2 separate regions of the Homo sapiens genome follow, and region 2 is linked to region 1. The links are contacts of gene promoters, found by promoter capture Hi-C in human tissues and cell types (Jung and others, 2019). All regions are on one chromosome and are shown on one strand. Each heading gives the region's core, a stretch centred on a gene start or on the middle of the fragment in contact. The rest is flanking DNA. Distances are from core to core; before and after follow the strand shown. Region 1 holds the start of PITPNA (phosphatidylinositol transfer protein alpha). Region 2 overlaps LOC284009 (a long non-coding RNA gene).

Evidence for each region. Contacts are between HindIII fragments. The study calls those that stand out against the background at their distance.
Region 2: a fragment that was not itself captured here is called in contact with the fragment with the promoter of PITPNA in region 1 in 1 of the 25 tissues and cell types used here (spleen).

What each region holds. Positions count from the first base shown.
Region 1 is chr17:1,561,234-1,564,387 of GRCh38, reverse strand. It overlaps PITPNA (phosphatidylinositol transfer protein alpha), which reads left to right and starts at 1,596. Exons shown (of 12, transcript NM_006224.4): 1 at 1,596-1,847. The coding sequence starts at 1,828. RefSeq lists silencers at 1,424-1,703, 1,774-1,823, 2,304-2,433 and enhancers at 1,276-1,775, 2,544-2,643. The HindIII fragment of the contact is 13,696 bases long and covers 1-3,154 here.
Region 2 is chr17:2,404,789-2,407,942 of GRCh38, reverse strand. It overlaps LOC284009 (a long non-coding RNA gene), which reads left to right. Exons shown (of 3, transcript NR_028335.1): 3 at 713-962. Among named protein-coding and RNA genes, the nearest start is that of MNT, 5.3 kb to the right of the region's middle. The HindIII fragment of the contact is 5,447 bases long and covers 1-3,154 here.

The DNA of each region.
Region 1 (3,154 bases), core at 347-2,846:
AGCACTGGAGTCATTACCTGCCCCCATGCCAGCCTGTCTTGCCTGTGTTCTCAGAGAAGACAGTACCGTCCACCCCGGCTCCCAGGCCAGAGACCTCGCTGCTTTTCTCTCCTCCTCTCAGCCAATGAGTCAACAAGTCTCACGGAGTTTACCTTCTGAGTTGCTCCTGAATCCATCCCTTCCTTTTCTTCCCTCCCACTGTCCTAGTCCACCTGCACCTGGACATCTGCAGCAGCCTCCTCGCCGGTCTCCCTGCCTACGCTCTGGCATTCCATCCCCTCTGTCCACCCAACCACTAGAGTGAGCCTTCGCCCAGGACACCCGCTCATGTCACTGCTCAGAGCCCTTACATGCCCTCCCACCGCCCTTAGGGTGGACTCCAAATACCTTATCATCGTTCACCAGGAACCCTCCCCTATTGAGCTGCTCAGCCCTGAAATGTTCTGTTCCACTCACTTGTCAGTTCTCCAAATGCACCATGCTCTCCCTCTTGCCTCCAGCCTTTGCATTCACTCTGCCTGCTATGCTCTTCTCCGAAGCCCTCTGCAGATCTGAGAATCTCTTCCTCCAGGAAGCCTTCCCTGACTACATCCCTGACGCTCAATTAGGTGCCCCTCCGTGTAATGCCGCTAAGCCTGTGTCTCATTTCTCACAGCCCTTTTCATTCTTTTTTTTTTTTTTTTTTTTGATGCAGAGTCTCGCTCTGTCGCCCCAGCTGGAGTGCAATGGTGCGATCTCGGCTCACTGCAACCTCCGCCTCCAGGGTTCAAGCGATTCTCCTGCCTCATCCTCCCGAGCAGCTGGGACTACCACCACCACGTCCACCACCACGCCCGGCTAATTTTTGTACTTTTAGTAGAGATGGGGTTTCGCCATCTGGTCTGGAACTCCTGACCTCAGGTGATGCGCCCGCCTGAGTGCTGCATTACAGGCATGATGTGCCTGGGATTACTGCCAGGAGCCACCGCGCCCGGCCTCACAGCCCTTTTCTTTTCTTTTTTTTTTTTTTGAGACGAAGTTTCACTCTTGTCCCCCAGGCTGGAGTGCAATGGCGCGATCGCGATCTCGGCTCACTGCAAACTCTGCCTCCCGGTACAAGCGATTCTCCCGCCTCAGCCTCCCGTGTAGCTGGGATTACAGGTGCGTGCCTCCACGCCCAGCTAATTTTTGTATTTTTAGTAGAGACGGGGTTTCATCATGTTGGCCAGGCTGGTCTCGAACTCCTGACCTCAGGTGATCCGCCCGCCTCGGCCTCCCAAGGTGCAAGGATTACAGGCGTGGGCCACCGCGCGCGGCTATTAATATTTTTTGAAACAACCTTTTCCTGGGTCTCAATTCCCTCAACCGGGGAGGCCCCCCAGCCAGCACCCGCGTGCATCCGTGGCGGTTCACACCGAGGACGGTGACGGACACCCTAGTCTGCTCCGCCTTCTGCCGGGTCTGGCCCCAGCCGCGGGGCCCCACCTCGGAACCGACAGCGCCGCCGCGGCCCACTTAAGGACGGGAGGGCGGGCCTGGGAAGGCTCGGCCCCGCGTGACGTCAGCGCGCACCGCGGCGTGTGACGCTCTGGTTGCCGCAGAGACGCCCCGCCCCCGCGCGGCGCTGCGGAACCGGAGCTCCGGGCGGCGTCGGCAGCGGCGCGAGAGGCGACGAGGCCCGGGCGGCAGGAGCCGGCGCGGCGACCGCGGCGAGGGCGGCGGGGACGGAGCAGAGCACGACGAAGACGCACAGGCAGCCGGGCCGGGCCGGGCCACGGGGAGAGCGGCCGGCGGGCAGCGGGCGGGAGGCCGGGCGGGCCGCGGGCAGCCACCGAGCCGCGAAGCGACATGGTGCTGCTCAAGGAGTAGTGAGTGTCCGGCGGCCGTGCGGAAGCGGGGAGGAGGGAGGGTGGGGACGGCCGCCGGGGCGACGGCGCGGCGAGGGACGCAGGGCCCGGATGGACGGAGGGGCAGCAGGGACGGAGGGTGCCTGAGGCGGGCCCAGCGGGGATGGAGGGGATCCGGGGCGGGCGGCACGTGAGGCGGGGCCCACGGGGCACGGAGGGGCGGCCGGGGCGTGGAGGGGCGGCCGGGGCGTGGAGGGGCAGCCGGGGCGTTCGGCATCTGAGCCGGGGCCCACGGGGCATGGACGGGCAGCCGGGGCATGGAGGGGCCCACGGGCACGGAGGGACAACCCGGGCGGACGGCTCCTCAGGCGCCCCGGGGGCCTCGGAGGCCCAAGTGGACCCGAGGAGAGGCCGGGGACAGCGAGGGCGAGGCCAGGCCCGAGACGGGGTCAGGGCAGGGAGAGCTGGCCCGGGACTGGGGGAGGCCGAGGGGACGCCGAGCGCTGGGAGTGCTGTGGGGTCGCTCTGCGCGGGCCGAGGGCGCGGGCTCAGCCGGGACTGCAGGCGGCGCTGAGAGGCCCCGCGGCGGCCGAGGAAGAGGCGCACCGGGGCAGGCAGGGCCTCCCGGCGGTGGGGAAAGGTGGAGGGCCGAACAGTTCACACGGAGAGCCGGGTGGATGGGTCAGAGGCTCCGCGATGGAGTTGGGATGGGGATGGGGAGGAGTGGCCGCCTTAGGCATCGGGTGAGGGGTGGTGGTAAGTGGACACAGGAGGAGGACTAGGAAGTCAGGGCCTGGCTGGGGAGACAGGTGAAGGGTCTGAGGACATGCAGAGGGGGCTGAGATGCGGGCCGGAGTAACCGTGGTGCCCAAGCAGCTGGTGCGGAAGAGGAGGCTTTTGGAACAAGCTTGGGATGACTGCTTGGGACGTGGGGAGACTTGGGCGAGGAGGCCAGAAAATGTTGGGTAGGGTCCGAAGTGGAGAAGGCCGGGAAGTTACCGGGGTCGAGGCTGGTCCGGAAAGAGAGTATGTTGGGATGAGTATACCTGCCGTTGGAGATGGGGGAGACCAGGGCAGGGCCAGCTTGTTTCTAGGGGATTCTCAGTCTTGGTGCAAAGAGATGGGGAAATTCTTTGAGGAATTGAGGGGTCCATGGAGCCGTGAACTGAGGAGAGATGGTGGAAGGGGTGGGGAGCTCTTGAGTAGTGAAGAGGGGTGCGTGGGAAACTGGTGACTTCTGGAAGGAGTTGCAGGATGACGGGTTTGCTCCTGAAATCCAGGGGACTGGGGGACAGGTGGAGATGTTTGGTGTGCTAAATCTTTCAAGT
Region 2 (3,154 bases), core at 434-2,933, 840 kb before region 1:
TTATGGGTAGAAACTCCTTCACCACCCTAGAGCTGAAAAATGTTTTCCTATATTTTATTATGGCTATTTTAGTTTTATTTTTTACATTTAGCATTTGAATTTACATTGCTGTATGGTGTGAAGTTTAAGGACCTGTCTTTTACCAGTGGTTCAGCATTATTTCAGACTAACTCATCAGAGAGGGCGCTGGGAAGCTCTAGCACTCCCCACTGAGGTGTCCCTGATGGCACAGGGAGTGGAGCAGGCTGGGCAGCAGTGGTGTGTCCTTTCCCAGTGGGCCCTGGGGCCTTGGGGAGAGATCTCATAGTGCACCTGGAGCTGAGCCCTGGCTCTGTGGTATCTGCTCTGGGCTGTGCAGCCAGTGACCGGCCACTGCTCTCGGCCTTGCCTCCAGAGAGAGCCTCATTCCTGGCATAGGCTGCTGATCTCTTGGGCTTTCAAGACTTGATGCTACAGCCTTGCATTTGGGTGTGAACTGGGGCTGCTGGGATATAGACCTTAGTCCTTTGTGTGGGGCACTGATCACATTGCAGCCCGTCGGTCCTGGGAGGTTTCTTCCCTATCACCATGTCCCCACCCCTGCGTGATCCAGCGGACTCTTGACTCCCATGGCAAGACTCCACCCGGCTTTACTCATAACTTCTGCCCAGTCCCACTCCCTTGACCTGAATTAGTTTTGCTGTCATAAAGCCACCTCTTTTTTCCTTTAAAGGAATCCCTGACATCGTCATCCGTCTCCTGTGCCTTTCCGCTGGGTCAGCCTCCTCCCACCAAGCTTCTGACCCACTGTCATCCGCAGCTGCCACTCTAGCTGCAGAGCTCGACTGGGCTCTGGTTTCTCAGAAGAGCTCAGAGGACCTGGCTCCTCCCTCTTTGCTTCTGAACTGCATTTCTTTCCTTATTACTCAGTGTCCACACCCACGGTGGCTGCCTGGATAAAAATCTGCCCCTTTCTCCCGTCACCTTTCATGCCAGACAAAAGCCCCAGTGAGTAATGGTGACCTACCCAGGTCCAGCTAGCAGCTCTCCATTCCTGAGTGGCCTGGGGCAGAACAGGGTCCTGCGAGCTCCTGGATCCCAAGTCTGATTCCCTTTCCCTGTCTTCCCGCTTATCTGCTAAGCTTGTTTATTGGGGACCACTAAGCAAAGTGAATGATTATTCCTGTCTTTAACGAGGAGGGGTGGAGTTCCCTCTCCATCTTCACCCACTTCTGGGAGGCTTTCAGGGACTCAACACCCCACACTGATAGCACTTCCCCAGGCCTGGCCCAGCCAGCCAAAGAGGAGGACCAGGCCACTTCTCAACCTAGCTGATGCTTGGCAGCTTTGTGACCTTGGATACACCTTCTCTTGGGAGGTCAGACCCCATGATCCCAGCTCTTCCAGCTATGACATCATGTGAGGCTGCAATTTTTTTTTTTTTTTTTTTGAGACAGTATCTTGCTATGTTGCCCAGGCTGGCCTTGAAATCCTGGGCTCAGGCGATTCTCCTGTCTCAGCCTCCCACGTAGCTGGAACTTAGGGCGTGAGCCACCGCGCCCAGCTTCTGGAAAGGACATGAATGGGGAGGTGGAACTTGATTGGACCTGTTCTGTGAGTTCAGGAGAGGTCCTCTGACAACTCACTTGGGGTGGGGAAAGGAGGTAAAGAGTCCTGTGGAAACTTTTGGCTGTGGGGACCCCATTTCACTGATGATTGAATGGGTCCACCTCTGTCAAAGGAATTCAGAGTCCCACTCATCATTCAGACTGGGGGAATCAGGCTCAGTTGACTGGCCCAGCCTTAAATCCACTGAATTTGTTTTTATCTCTACATAGAAAAACGGAATTACAGTTGCTTCTCACTGTCCAATGGGGATTGGTTCCTGGAGCCTCCCTGAATACCTGTCCATGGATGATGCTCAAATCCCTTACATGTAACCTATGCACATCCTCAGGTATCCTTTAACTCATCTCTGCGCTACTCAAATACCTCATACCATGTAAATGCTGTGTAAATAGTTCTTGTGCTGTGTTGGTTTTTAAATTTGTATTATTTTTTCTTGTATATTTTCCATTTTTTTTTCCTGAATATTTTTGATCCACGGTTAGTTGCCTCCATGGGTGCGGACCCACGGACACGGAGGCTGCACCTTCTGAAATGAGCATGGCGGCGCCCTCTGGGTCCTCGTGTCGTCCTGTCTCTGGTGCTGCATCCAGCACGGTGGCGAACAGCAGAACTAATCTTTTGCAAGTTATCACAGTGGAGTGGAGTTCCGCTCTGTTTGCTTTTGCCCCGCTCTGGCTTACCAGAGGTCCCCTGGCCTTGGCCACAGCATACCTAGCCTAGTGCTTGGCACCTCAGGCACACAATAAATATTTATGAAATGGATCTTCTCTGGTATGTCTTGAGTGTACTAGTCTTCTGTTTTTTCCTCTTCATCCTGCAGCCAGCTTCCTCCCATGGGTCTTGTTTTAATGATGGTATGTGAAAAGCTCCTTAGCTGCTTGCAAAAGATGAGACATCAGGCTTGAAGGGTTGGGATTTCCTGTGAACATCTGTACTTTCGGCTTCACGCCCTTTCCCCCATCTCATGACTCAGGCTTTGTAGGAGTCAGGGCACTGATTTTCATAGCTCTTGGAGTTGATACTTTGTTAGGTGAGTGGTGGGGGATAGGAAGACAGTTCCACTAAGGGGATGTCTCTGGCTCAGCATATTAAAAAATTGGGGAATTGGTGCTTCTTATTGTGGTTGGTGAAAAAAAGAATAAAAGATTAAAAAATTGGAGGACATAATGGAATTTGAACTGGGAGGTGGGGTGCACAAGACTCGGGGAGGAAGACTGAAAACGGAAACCCTCTCGTGAGAAACTCACAATGATGGACAGCCCAGCTTTTCTCCTGCTCCAAGGTACTAAGCACCCAGAAGCCATGAAGAAACTTAAGGAACAGCCGGGCGCGGTGGCTCACGCCTGTCATCCCAGCCCTTTGGGAGGCCAAGACAGGCAGATCACTTGAGGTCAGGAGTTTGAGACCAGCCTGGCCAACATGGTGAAACCCCGTCTCTACTAAAAATACAAAAATTAGCCGGGCGTGGTGGTGCGTGCTTGTAATCCCAGCTACTCCGGAGGCTGAGGCAGGAGAATCACTTGAACCTGGGAGGCAGAAGTTGCAG